Linked DNA regions of Homo sapiens: all the other regions are linked to region 1. The links are contacts of gene promoters, found by promoter capture Hi-C in blood cells and fetal thymus (Javierre and others, 2016). All regions are on one chromosome and are shown on one strand. Each heading gives the region's core, a stretch centred on a gene start or on the middle of the fragment in contact. The rest is flanking DNA. Distances are from core to core; before and after follow the strand shown.

What was found. Contacts are between HindIII fragments. The CHiCAGO score rates a contact against its expected background, and 5 or more counts as called.
Region 2: a fragment that was not itself captured here is called in contact with the fragment with the promoter of G3BP1 in region 1 in 3 of 17 cell types (fetal thymus, naive CD8 T cells and total CD8 T cells); the score reaches 7.5 in fetal thymus.
Region 3: a fragment that was not itself captured here is called in contact with the fragment with the promoter of G3BP1 in region 1 in 1 of 17 cell types (M2 macrophages); the score reaches 8.0 in M2 macrophages.

Annotation. Positions count from the first base shown.
Region 1 is chr5:151,769,600-151,774,307 of GRCh38, forward strand. It overlaps G3BP1 (G3BP stress granule assembly factor 1), which reads left to right and starts at 2,355. Exons shown (of 12, transcript NM_005754.3): 1 at 2,355-2,437. It overlaps LOC100652758 (a long non-coding RNA gene), which reads right to left and starts at 2,577. Exons shown (of 2, transcript NR_132345.1): 1 at 2,104-2,577; 2 at 194-1,173. RefSeq lists enhancers at 442-1,163, 1,542-1,771, 2,029-2,323 and silencers at 2,532-2,861, 2,912-2,981. The HindIII fragment of the contact is 14,997 bases long and covers 1-4,260 here.
Region 2 is chr5:148,389,064-148,393,771 of GRCh38, forward strand. All of the region lies in intron 1 of FBXO38 (F-box protein 38), which reads left to right. Among named protein-coding and RNA genes, the nearest start is that of FBXO38, 7.5 kb to the left of the region's middle. The HindIII fragment of the contact is 700 bases long and covers 2,375-3,074 here.
Region 3 is chr5:154,873,921-154,878,628 of GRCh38, forward strand. CNOT8 (CCR4-NOT transcription complex subunit 8) reads left to right here. Exons shown (of 7, transcript NM_001301073.2): 7 at 1,370-2,872. The coding sequence ends at 1,519. Among named protein-coding and RNA genes, the nearest start is that of CNOT8, 18 kb to the left of the region's middle. The HindIII fragment of the contact is 297 bases long and covers 2,744-3,040 here.

The DNA of each region.
Region 1 (4,708 bases), core at 1,105-3,604:
GAGCTACCGCGCCCGGCATGCTGCATAATATTCTATATTACGTGTATATCACTGTTAAAACAGCTTATCAATTGATGAACATTAAGTGTTCGGGTTTTAAATCTTCTAGCAATGCTGACAAAGCTGCAGTGAAAGTCTTGGCACATGCCTTTGTAAACAAATGTGGCTATCAACCAAGTGACATTATTGTTTTGGGGGATATGCACAATTTTATTAGATTTTTAAATTGCTGCTGGGCGCGGTGGCTCACGCCTGTTAATCTCAGCACTTTGCGAGGTCGAGGCAGGTGGATCACCTGAGGTCAGGAGTTCGAGACCAGCCTGGCCAACATGGTGAAACCCCGTCTCTACTAAAAATACAAAAAAATTAGCAGATCCTGGTGGCGCGCGCCTGTAATCCCAGCTACTAGGGAGGCTGAGGCAGGAGAATCGCTTGAACTCAGGAAGGCGGAGGTTGCAGTGAGCCGAGATCACGGCATTCCACTCCAGCCAGGGCGACAGAACGACGCTCCGTCTCAAAAAAAAAAAAAAAATTGCTTGGCAAAAAGATCTGTATCACTTAAAACTCCCTCCAAAAGTGAAGGGTAGCCATGTCCCTCATCGCGAGTCACCTGGGTTAAATTACTAATCTGTAAATGTTAAATTTCGCCAATCTTCTTAGTGTTTCAATTCGGAGAGTCATGTTGTGAAATGCCAATCTCTTAGTCCACCTTTTAAAAAACTTTGCAGGGGTTCTCCAAGGCCCTCAGAATAAAGTCCAGATTCCTTTGCAGAGCTAACAGGATACAGGAGACTCCCTGCTCCAGGAAACTTCTAGGGGCTTCTCTCCTGGGGCCTGTTCCCTGGTTTTGGGAGCGCTCGGGCGACCGCGAGCCAGAGCAGCGTCTCGCTCATCTCGGACCCAGGCCTGGGGCTCCACTGACGCCGACGGAGCCGGGCTGCTGCGGGAGTGGAGCCCTGGGGGACCAGAAGGGGCTTTCACTTCGCTCCTGGGCCTCCCGAGTTCCAGGCTCGGGCTAGCCCCGCGCAGGGAGGCGAGCGGGCCCGGCTCCCCAGAGGCCGAGGCCGGCGCCCGTGCTCCTTCAGCTCGGCCTCTCTCCCCCGACATAGGCGCTCCACATGCTTCATTTCCAAAATTCTCAGCAAAACTCCGCGGGAGACCCTGGTCACATGCCTGGAACGAGAACAAACCGGGGCGTGTCTGTGCCGGACGGCTGGGAACCAAAGCTATTTCCATAGAAATAGGGCCGGCCAGCCTTGAGTTGTAGCCCCGCCAGTGCCTGAAACGCCAGGAGGAGGGGACGAGTTGCCTTTTAAAGGCGTAGCGACGAGAATAAGCCCCCACCCGCGGCAATTCGAGGCTGAACAATAGTGGTGCAGCTCGGGACGTGGTGCGAGGGCCCACACTCCACTGGAGCACGCGCGGACCACCGTGCCTCAGCTGCCACAAAGGGAGCCTCGCCACACGCCCGCGGCCGCCTCGCAGCGCCCGCCAAGAAGCGCCTGGCGGAAGGGCGCACTCTCAGGCCTTCCACCGGCGACCTTCCGGCGGGAGCCTGCGGGCGGCGCAGGAACGACCCTCCTTCCTCTGCCCCGCAGCAGTGCTGAGTAATGGTGAGAGCAGCAAGGCCCTTGGCCGCCGCACGTAAGAAAAAAGTTGTAATAAAAAGAAAACAACCCGGGAAACTTTACTAGTTGGTTCGCCAGGTACAAACCTATGCGGAAAAGGCGGGGTACAGGCCTCGGAGGCCGGACCCAACCAGTCAGGGAAAGAAAGAGGGCAGAAGCCGCAGGCTGCACAGCCTCACAACCGCCCAGAGGGCACGGCGGCCCTGGGGCTCGGTCTCTTCCGAGCAGAGCAACCTCCGTGTCTATCAGCTCCTTCCGGCGTTGCGATTGGCCACAGGCTGTCTTGGCCTCTCGGACGCCCGCCTCCTAGTTGCTAGGGGTTTACTTCCCCAAAGTACACGGGCCCCACCTTGTGGCGCAACCGCTCCTGCATGGAAAACGGATCTCCGCCCAGGGGAAGACGTGTTAACGAATAAGAGCAGCCCCACACATTTATTGGCTACTTTGAGTATCAGTCAAAGAACTGCTCACTCGCCTTTCTATTGTACTTTTCGGTTATTGGTCTCTCTTAGTGCCGATCTGTTACTAGGGAAACGAGATCCTCACAGTCTCATAGGCAGGAGTCAAAGCCAATCAAGAGCCACGCCTTCATCCCCGAGTCAGTGCCCAATTACTGTTCGAAGAGCCCTGAGGACGCGGTCGGGATTGGTCATCCCGTCGCCCGACCTGGCCGCAACAAGTTAGGGTGAGTGGCAGTTATATAGACCGGCGGCGGAGCACGCGTGTGTGCGGACGCAGTTGCGTGAGGGGTTTGTACTATCCTCGGTGCTGTGGTGCAGAGCTAGTTCCTCTCCAGCTCAGCCGCGTAGGTACGCCGGGGTGTGGGCGGGGCAGGGAGGCCAGAGGACTAAGCCGAGCCGCAGCACTTGTGAGAGGGAGAAGTCTGAGTGGCGCTCGCGGCGGCCGCGCCAGTCGCGTCCCCCACCCCAACCCCCACCCCAACGGCCGCAGGCGCGCGCGGCGGACGGACGGGCGCGCGGCGGCTCCTCGCTCCCGCTCCCGTCCCGGCTGGGGCGCGTGGCCGTGTCCGCCGCGTGCGCGTGCTGCGTCCAACGGCCTCGCGGGGCAGGAGTAAGCCGCGGCCGCCGCCTGGGCCCCAGGGCGGTCTCTGGGGCCAGGGGTCCCGCGCCCAGCGTTTCCCGCCCGCCACCCTCTCCGCCACGCGCCCGCGGCACCTTTTCCTCCCCTGGCCAAGGGATCCAGTCGGTTCGGACCAGAAGGAGGCTTTCGTTTAGGGTGGGGGCAGCACTAAAGTCTGATTGGAGTCTTGCGGTCCGCGCGTCGCAGAAGCGCCTTCGGTTTTGCAGAGAGCAAAGAGGGAGCAGCGAGTGCACGGAGTGGTAGTAACAACCAATGTTCTTTCCACGCCCTCACTGTGTGTCCGGCACTGTGCGGAGCCACTTTTCTGCCTTTCATTTGATTCTTGCAGTGAGCTGGCGAGGTGGGTACGGCTATCCTCCTTCCTTAGCGGCCCAAGGCACGGGTTTGGAGAGCGGGGTCACAGGCACGCACGGGAAGGGCGGGGATTTGTTGACGCCGGGCCCTCTGACTCCGAGCTCCCCGCTTCCCAAGCCTGTTTTTAGTCTTTGCCCCCAGAGCACTTGTCCCTCGGGGCAGCATCAGCCTCAAAAGGCCACCTGCCGAGAAGGCTGCAGCGGCATTTGTACTTGGGCTAGTTCTGGGCTTCCAGGGAGACAAGGGTTGGAAGTGGGAATGTGACAAAGGAAAAGGGTTTGGGCTTCCTTTCTACGTGTACTTGTACAGGCCCTGGGTAGATGTGCCGCCACCGTAGCTTCTGGAAAAAAGTAGGGAAAACGATGAGTAAGTGCAAATGAACATGGACTGTGTTCCTCATCGGGTTTGAATCTCAGATTGCTGATGGGAAATTCCCGCCAGCGGGAAGTTAGGCTCCGGTTTTAGACGTTGAATTTTTTTTTCTCTACTTTTTTTTTAATTGGAGGAGACTTTTGCAGAAAGACCTTGAGAAGATTCACTTTATAGTTGAAGGGAATGAGGTGCAAAGCGACGAATTTAAGATCTCACTAGCATCTGTGGGTTAAAATACGGAATTGGAATAGAAAGGTTGGCGCCCAGTTACAGTATACTATTTGGACCTCTGTGGAGCGTGTCATGCTGGATGAATTACTGGTGTTGGAGATGTGTTGGAAAAAACAACTGTGACAGTCGAGATCTGTGGATGAAAGTTTGTGTACACTCCGTTTATTTAGCATTTACTCTGCTGGGTTCTTGTGTATATGCAGAAACAAGATGCTTTTCTTCAGGGACTGGAGCTTATATTTTTCTAGTAGTTACCATCTTTTAGATTATTTAAAAGCCAACATACTCCTTGGCTTAGTGAAATAAATCTTCTATGTTATAGAAACACTTCTATAAACATAAAGATTTCTATAATCGTGTTCTGGAAACCCTTTCTATAAACATGTTTCTATAACAGTATTATAATAATGTTCCAAGTAACATTTACTTGGAACTTTGCTGGTGTGGCGATTCCGGTTACTTGCCCTTACAGACTGGTTAACTATGGAATTAGCATTTTAACTTAGACTTAAAGTTGAGCAATTTAAGTTGTCAAATGGAAAAACACTAGAATGACCTACATTTAAACTGTTTAAGCTTGAGTCCAGCTAATTTTATTACTGCTTGAGGCAAAATAGAATGAAATTACCTTACACATTATTGAGGGAAAATTTCGTTAGTTTCTACTTAAAATATTAAAAAAATACAGTTCTTGGCCTCAGGCAAATGGTTATCACTTGGGCAGGAACATGAAAATTACGTGATTATTTCACAAACTGGTGCTCTAACTGATTACTTGTGCATTTATCAGGAACAAGTGAATTGAAGCAAATTGTGGTAATGTAAGGCTTGGCAAGGCTGCCCTACATCCCTACCAAGTCATACGTCAGTTTTGTTGGAGCTGCTTACCGGTACAAAAGTCTAAGCTTTTGTACCTCTTACAGGTAGAAAAGTAGACAGTTCTTTGTTTAACTCAGTTTGCTGTTCCTGAGCTGACACTGCACCAGGGGAACATTAGGAGATTTTGGTAATGTTTGTTTGTG
Region 2 (4,708 bases), core at 1,475-3,974, 3.4 Mb before region 1:
GGCCTAAGGAGAGGGACAGAGATAGGAAGAACAGCTAGCCAGTGGAGCAGTTAGAACGACACCATATTTATCAATCAAGTTTGCCATCTTATACAGCATGGTTTGTGGTACCTCCAAAACAATTAAAGTAGTAACATCAAAAATCACTGATCATAGATCACCGTAACACATATAATAATAATGAAAGGATATGAAATATTGTGAGAATTACCAAAATGTGACACACAGACATGAAGTGAGCATGTGCTGCTGGAAAAAGGGCACCAATAAACTTGCCTGACGCAGTGTTGCCACAGACCTTCAATTTGTGAAAGACACATTATCTTTGAAGCACAGTAAAGTGAATCACAATTAAGGTATACCTGTATTCACCTGTCCCTCATGCTCCATGACTTCTCAGCAAGACTTCCTCCAAGTCATCTTTCTCTAATGCCGATAACTGGACTTTCCCCTCCTTTACTCTTTCTTTTTTAACCTACTACTGCTTTGTACGTTCTCTGCATTACTGAGTTTCTCAAGTGAGTTGAAGGCAGGGTGTTTAGTGGCAAGTGGTATTTTGGAGGTAGGAGTGAGAAAAAAACACAAGGCTAGTGATGGCAGTTTTCTCCTCACTTTCTTTGGTTCCTCTTCCAACTAAAAAGAAAAGCAAATAAGAGAAAGGGTGCACATTAAAAAGGGATACCGGCCGGGCGTGGTGGCTCACGCCTGTAATCCCAGCACTTTGGGAGGCTGAGACGGGTGGGTCACTTGAGGTCAGGAGTTCGATAGCAGTCTGGCCAACATGGTGAAATGCCGTCTCTACTAAAAATACAAAAATTAGCCGGGTGTGGTGGCATACGCCTGTAGTCCCAGTTACTCGGGAGGCTGAGGTGGGAGAATTTCTTCAACCCAGGAGGCAGAAGTTGCAGTGAGCCAAGATCGCGCCATTGCACTCCAGCCTGGGCAACACAGCGAGACTCTGTCTTAAAGAAAAAAAAAAAAAAAGGTACCATCACCACTTACTTGGGACTTGTGGTGTGTGAATTTCAAGTGTTCTTTCTCATATAGGGAAACCAGGTCCCTATTCATCAGTACCTGAGATGAAATACTCAGCATAGCCCAGCTGGGTATTTCACTTAAATGAAGATGAAGCCAACTTTAGCTGAAGCAACTTTGTTGTCCTTTATCAAGACTGAGTAAGGGTGGGGGAAAATAAAATATTTTTTGACCGAGGAAGCTTTTTATCTCCTGAACATTTTCAGAGACATCTACTTGGACTTGAGAAGGCTGCTAGATTTCTCCAGGCTATAAGTCCTGTCAATCTCCTATATATAAGATAGAGATGTTTTCTTTTACCCTAGTGTTTATCTCCACAAGTTCCTTCCCCACGATAGGCTTAGGGTAGGGGCCTCACTATTCACCTGCCTGGTAAGAACTAAAAGACCCAAGTCTTCAATTCTAGCCGTGATGTAAGAAACAGGAATAGTTTTACCTAAAATTTTGTCAGTCCTGCTAATTTAAAATTTAGGCTTTTTGCTAGTTAGTGTTAAAGGATATTGTAGGTTAAGAAGGTTTTTGTCAGCTTCCTGGAGATCTAACCTCAGTATAATATTGTATAACATCATTTCTGTGAGTAAATATTTGTTAACTCTCAATAAGTGGAGTTTTATAAACTCAATGATATTTAAGGTGCAGGGTATTTAGTCTAAAAATTTACGTATAGTTTGTGCACTAGGGCTACTAAATCTAATTCACACAAAAGCACCACATTGCAGAATCCTAAGGAACAATCAAAGGTGGAATCAGTAGAGGAAGGTGTTATTAGGTGGTGTGAATTTGAGGAAGAAAAAGGAGGAAGAAGGGATTAAAAAAAAGCTTTTTATTAAAGGAATAAAGAATCGAGCATCATCTCGATGAAGGATTGTCAAGATTCTTAAAGCTGAACATGTGCTAAAGTATAACAACTGGTGGATTGGTCTGAGCATCTAGGTAATTTGTGGGTGGATTAGTCTTTGCTGGTTAATCGTCCTGTTGAGGCTTTTACATGCTACAGAGTAGCTGTTAGGTGTGTCACTGCAGTAAAATCTGATTGCATTATTGTCTAGGTTATAAGTTTGTTGCTGAGATCATTGAATGCTGTGGTAGCAAACGTCTCATAAGAGCATGAAATGGTTTTTAGCAGCAGCCTCGAAGCTACTGGATGTATATAGAATAATGGAAAGACTGGTGGATATTCATACATTAGATATTTGAGGATATATTGTGAGCAAGGACTTGTTGTCACCTAGAGGCAAGATTTTTTAGCAGAAACATGACTAATAAATCACTACACAAACTGCTGTGGAAGCATATGTTAAGTCCCACAGGGAGCTCAAATGAAGGAGTCAGTAGGGGAAGCTTTTACAGAGGACTTACATTTAAGCTAGATTTTTACAGGCAGTTTTCTAGGCAAAGTAGGGAAAAGAAGGACATTTCCAGTCAGAGTTAAAAGCATATTAGGAATGAAACACCAATGGTTGTTTGGGGGAACTAAGAAGATACTGGTCTGCTAGAGTGAGTATACTGAGAGCAAGTGGTAAGGATTGGAAGAAGATAAGATTGGAACATCTGGTGTTTTGAGATTAGATTGGAAATATTTTATCCTCTGAACCAGGATTCCTTGTAGGCCGATTGTTTTGTTTTGCTTGGCCATGTATATTGTACTTCTTAAAAACAATCTGAAAATTTCAAATGATGGAGAATAATATGAAGTGAAAAGTAAAAGTTTTTTTCTGCTTTCCTAAACCTCTGTTATCACTCCTCAAAGGTTACCGGTTAATATTTTGTTGTCTTCTTTCATAAAATGTTGTATGCAGACACAGTATATTTGTCTTTTTTATCATACTTTTTAAAAAAAGTTTTAGGGGGTAATCTTTTTAATTTTTAAAATTATGTTGTTGTTAGAATCATACTTTAGATGTAGTCTGTGTTTTGCTTTTTTCACTTAACACTATAAATCAGGAGACTGTTTTAAAAAGATAACTGGCTTCAGTATAGAGTATAGCATGGTAAGCATTTATTCAATAAATTACTTATGGCAGGCATAGTGTCTGCTAAGCTTTTCCTCGACCCTGAGGATACAGTGATGGGTATCATTTAGGAAGCCATTTCCGTAGTGCACGTGAATGTTAATGGAGTCCCAAAAGGTAATGGGAATGGATGTAAGAACTGTATTGAGATAAAATTGATAAAAATAGCCCATCAATTGTCTGTGGGAAATGAGAAATCAGAATATATTTAGGATGATTTCAAGGTTTACAATTCAGGAATTCAGTAAAACACATTAGGGAAATAGGTGTGTTTATTTGTATATATCTGTGTATCTTTGTTTTGGGGAGGGGGAGGGTTCGTGATATGAAGGAGTTCATTTTGAACATAGTGTTTTTGAAGGATGTTCAAGTTATTGAGGTGAAAATTTCTGATAGGCAGAGGAAATAAAGTTCAGAGCTCAGGAGAGGTAAGAAGTAGAGTTGGAAATTTTTTCTTTTTTTGCTTTTCTTTGTGTGTGTGTGTGTGTGTGTGTGTGTGTGTGTGTGTGTATTTGTAATAGCTAAATCCTTGGGAATGAGTACAATTGCCCAGGGAGAAGAGGGCTCGAGGATAAATTAGCAAAGGAGACTGAGCAGTGGTCATAGAGGAACGACAAGAATCGAGAATATCACTTTCGGAGCCAAAGGATGAGAGGGTTTCAAAGGAGTGGTCAGCGGTGTCCCATAATACAAATGGGTCAGATGGGGAAGCACTGGAAAGAGGCTATTGGATTTGTTGACTACATGTTCAATGTAACCTTAGAGGTTTCAGGAGCTATCATAAGATGGAAAGATTCATTTGGAGGAGGCAGGGCAGTAAACAAGAAAAGGTGGGCAGTGGTTAATCAGAAGCAGGTGAGTTTATTTATAGCTTTTCTTTTAGCTTGGGCAGTTCTGAGTATGAACTTTATTTTTCCGGAGGCCTCTTAGCCAAAATGTGATAGACAACATAGGAGTAAGCTTCTGAGAAGTTAAGACACATGTCACAAATTCAGGGTAGCATAGCCCATATACCAGTCCACACACATTGATTTCTCTGGTTTCTCAGGCCGTACTGGTTAGAAACAACAGAAGAGGGGTGTGTGTGTGTGTGTGTGTGTGTGTGTGTGTGTGTGTGTGTGTGTGATGAGAGGCAAGCATGCTGACAGCCTCAAGAAGTAAATAGCACATAACCTTTCAGTGAGGGAAGAAGAGACCAGAACACACACACACAGGCAGAAGAAATGATGAAGATTTACTTAGCCTAGTAGAGTGTCCATTTACTGCTGAGGCAAAAAAAACCTCAGGAACTGCATATACTTAAAGTACCCTCTGCCCACCAGGTGCCTTTCTCCTAGTGAGTTCTTTCCTACTTTTTGCAGTGTTAATTCCTGCTCTCCCTTCAGTTATGGGCTCAATTGTCTTTCCCTCAGGAGAACCATTAGTGACTCAGGCCCCTTTGTTATATGAGGCTTCACAACTGTGTTTACTGTCTTTGCAGCAGTTATCTCCGTGTGCAATTCTGAGCTCATTTGCGTGGTTATTTAATTGTGTATCTCCACTTAACTCTGGGCCGTTTGTTTACAATGGGCCCAGAGTACATAAGTGGTATTCAAAATAAATGTGCCAAGGCATATTTAAATGAATCTGAATGCACCTCTTTTCAGCTGTCATCCTGTGCC
Region 3 (4,708 bases), core at 1,642-4,141, 3.1 Mb after region 1:
GTGATACACTGGACAAGTTCCCCCAAATAATTATCCTACCCCAGTAGTGCCACAGTGGAGAGATCTTGCGTTAAGTGCTTACTGTTCGTTATCTCATTCCTCATAATAACCCTATTATCCTGTTTTATAGATAGGGAACTATGGCTTAAAAGGAGTTTAAATGACTTTGCCAAGGTCAAGTGAGTCCGGCTGAATCCACAGCCCAAGCCCAGCCCATTGCTCTGCCTGTTAAAGAGAAGGGAGCAGTTGTGTTAAACAGCAGCAGCACAGAGATACTGGCAGTAAAAGAATACATGGAAAGTATGTTCAGATAGGAGAGCCTTTCTCCTATAGAGAAAGGAGCATGAAAAGACTGCATTAAAAGGAAAGGTTTAGGCCGGGTGCGGTGGCTCACACCTGTAATCCCAGCACTTTGGGAGGCCGAGGCAAGTGGATCACTTGAGGTCAGGAGTTCGAGACCAGCCTGGCCAACATGGTGAAACCTGCCTCTATTAAAAGTACAAAAATTAGTCAGGTGTGATGACATGCACCTGTAATCCCAGCTACTCGGGAGGCTGAGGCAAGGGAATCACTTGAGCCTGGGAGGCGGAGGTTGCAGTGAGTGAAACCCTGTCTCTTTTTCTTTTTCTTTCGAGACGGAGTCTTGCATTGTCACCCAGGCTGGGGTGCAGTGGTGTGATCTCAGTTCACTGCAACCTCTGCCTCTCGGGTTCAAACAATTCTCTGCCTCAGCCTCCCAAGTAGCTGGGATTACAGGTGCCTGCCACCACGCCTGGCTAATTTTTTGTATTTTTAGTAGAGACAGGGTTTCACCATCTTGGCCAGGCTGGTCTTGAACTCCTGACCTCGTAATCCACCTGCCTTGGCGCCCCAAAGTGCTGGGATTACAGGCGTGAGCCACTGTGCCTGGCCGAGCCTTTCTATACTATTAGTTTTTTTTTCTAGTTTGGTATATTTTCAGGGCTTTAGGAAGGCTGGGAGGTGGTGATGTGGTAGTGGTTTTTTTCTTTTTTGAGATGGAGTCTTCGCTATGTTGCCCAGGCTGGAGTGCAGTGGTACGGCCTTGGCCCACTGCACCCTCTGCCTCCTGGGCGCAAGTGATTCTTCCGCCTCAGCCTCCCAAGTAGCTGGGATTACAGGTATGTGCCACCATGCCCGGCTCATTTTTGTACTTTTAGTAGAGATGGGGTTTTGCCATGTTGGCCAGGCTGGTCTCGACCTCCTGACCCCAAGTGATCTGCCCGCCTCAGCCTCACAAAGTGCTTGGATTCCAGACGTGAGCCATTGCACCCGGCCAGATGTGATAATATTTATACTTGTCATGACTTCTAGCATAACTCTCACCATGGTTCTCTGTCCCATTCTGCAGTTGTTTTTTGAGGACAGCATTGATGATGCCAAGTACTGTGGGCGGCTCTATGGCTTAGGCACAGGAGTGGCCCAGAAGCAGAATGAGGATGTGGACTCTGCCCAGGAGAAGATGAGCATCCTGGCGATTATCAACAACATGCAGCAGTGATGGCGCCAGGCTCTGCAGGGTGGGCCTGATCCCAGAGTGGTGCTTACTGTGCTGACTGTGTACTTATCTTCCCCAAGAGAAAATGCTTCTTTTGAGCACACTGTACCTACCATCTGCATTGAGCAGAAAGACTTTTGTTTTACTGAAGACAAAAGATGTTTTTATTTTAGACCCAGAAGAGAGGAGTTTGCTCTGAATTTGTAAATAAGTCTTCCCCATTCCTCATACTCGAGCCTCTCCTCTCTGGTTGCCTCCTGCCACCAGCATCCATGGCTCATTTGACACCTTTTTAAATATCAGGACAAGTCTGAAACAAAGTAGTAAAATGTATATAACTCTTACCTGTTGTCATTCTTTTTCTTTTAAATTTGTTGCTAATCTCTGATAATGAAGATTCTTACTCTGATTCTCAGCTGAGCTGTGAGGGCTTCCAGGGAAAATGGAACAAAATGGTGTTCTTAGGTAATGGGTTGTAGATACTGAGTCTTCCTTTCCTTTTCTGACCCTTCTCGAGGACATTTGCTTTCCTCACACTTTTGTAGTCTCTCTTTACATATTACTATATGGAAATGAATTGCTCTGTGCTGAAATTTGAAGACCAGATAATGAAACTGAAAAGCAAACAATTTTACTGAATCTGTCTACCCTTCATTCATGAGAACTCCAGAATGAGTGTTGACCACTGAAGCATCTTTTAAGTCTGTGTTCCATTGTGCCATTCAGGTTTGCTGTCACATATGCATCATCTGAAATCATTTGAAATTTTTGTACAATAAAATATCCTGGATTTGATCCTGAAGGAAACTAGTAAGATCAGATTTTTGGGTCATGTCTGTTGTATTTTCAGTAATGTGATTTCAGATGGTCATCTGGATTCTCCCACTTCTCTACTCCATTATTTCTCTACTTTTCCTTCCAGCAAACCTGAAACGTGAGGGAGATGGATTAATGTGAGTAACAGGAATGTGTCTTTAAAAAGCTAGAGTGGTTACATTTAATCAGGCAGTAAGATAATTTGGGTTCTTGAGTTGTTTTGGAGTAATATCCCACAACTGGGGTAGGAAGCTCAGGACTTTTTTCTTTAAAGCTAGTCATTTCAAAAGCATATTGTATTTTTTTGAATGACTACAGTATGGACAATTTCAAAAACCAAAACCCACTTTGGATTGGTGGAAGTAAAAACTGGTAACTCACTCAAGTGAATGAATGGTCTTGCATTTTAAAAGCTTATGGGAAACTCAATTTGAAATGATTAGAAAATGTCAAGTATTATAAGCTGGTATTTAAGATGCTTGTAAATACTATTTATGTTTTTAATTTTGTAAAATAAAGATTTCTTTTTAACCACTGGCATTAAGGTTTGGTCTTTCATAGCTATGGATTGCTGGCTCTGGAAGATGGTCATTTGCCATCAGTGAAATAAGAGCATCTTGCCTCCATTGTCCCCAAGTTGGCTTACATACAAAATATCACTTGGGGGGTGGGTTCGGGAATAAAAAAAATACATATCACTTGGTAGGAAGCTTTTCACGAGCACCTGTGTAAATGGAATTGTCTCTTCATACTCAAGATTGTTGGGTCTTAATATTATAGAATTAAACCAGTCTAATATTTCCTGGGGTCACTCCACTATATATGGTGGATTAGCTTGTTAATTAGTGGGATTCTTTTAAACAACCTGAACTTCAGATATCCTAGAGTTGGCTCAAGACTTTGTTTCCAGCCATTTCTGTTGACACAAAATATGTGGGGTTTTAAGAAGTCTGGTACAGGGGCAGATATGGAATTGTGACTGGGAAGTTGACAAAACAAGAGATTTATCACTGTAATTTCTGGTGAAACAGCAGTCAGTGGTTCTCAACCAGGGTGCCCTGGCATGCTGGTGACTGTGAGCGCTATGCAGATACCCTTCCAAATTTGAATTAAAGCAGGACATTTAATATTTTCTACAATTAAGGACTTACTTACATGTCAGGAGAAATGCTCAAAGGGTTGAGGAACTCAGTGTTGAGTGTGGGGTTTGGTCATCATTGCATGTGAGAGTTAAGAGCTTAGAGTAGTGCTTTAGCAAGAAAGAGCACAAGTCTTGGAACTGGCAAGAACTTTGTGTGTATGAGTGCATATAGGTCTATGTGAATGCTCATCCTCAAAAAGTGATGGCACTGTAGGGTAACCAAGAGAATCACTTAAGGTGTAATTCTTTCGAGGTTTAGACAGGGTCTCACTCGGTCATCCAGGCTGGAGTGCAGTGGCATGATCTTAGCTCACTGCACCCTCACCCTCCTGAGTAGCTGGGACTACAGGTGCATGCTACCATGTCCAGCTAATGTTTATATTTTTTTAGTAGAGATGGGGTTTCACCATGTTGGGCAAGCTGGTCTCAAACTCCTGACCTCAAGTGATTTGCCTGCCTTGGCCTCCCAAAGTGCTTACAGTCATGAGCCACCGTGCTGGCTTGTAATTCTTTTTTTTTTTTTTTTTTTTTTTTTTTTTGAGACAGAGTCTTGTTCTGTCGCCCAGGCTGGAGTGCAGTGGCATGATCTTGGCTCACTGCAACCTCCGCCTCCCAGGTTCAAGCAATTCTCCTGCCTCAGCCTCCCAAATAGCTGGTGCCAGAAACAGTCAGTTCCTCTTCAAACTTCTTTGTTTCTTTTAGCGACTAATGTCATTTCACATTGCTAGAAGATACATTCTTGTTCTCTAAACAAGCCTTTCCATCTTTGCCATGCCTAAACATGCCCAAACATGCCTTAACGGACAATCCCTCCCTCCCCTCCTTTCTTTTCTTTACAAGTTACGCATTTAGGCTGGGCACAGTGGCTCACGCTTGTAATCCCAGCACTTTGGGAGGCCAAGGCGGGTGGATCATGAGGTCAGGAGATTGAGACCATCCTGGCTAACACAGTGAAACCCTGTCTCTACTAAAAACACAAAAAATTAGCCGGGCATGGTGGTGGGCACCTGTAGTCCCAGCTACTTGGGAGGCTGAGGCAGGAGAATGGCGTGAACCCAGGAGGTGGAGGTTGCAGTGACCCAAGATCGCGCCACTGCACTCCAGCCTGGGCAACAGAGACAGTCTCAAAAAAAACAAAAAACAAAACAAAAAAAAAACAACAAGTTACGCATTTAAATGTTTCAGTTTACTCTGTTTGGAAAAGTTTTACCACTCCTACCCCTTCTTCCCCATCT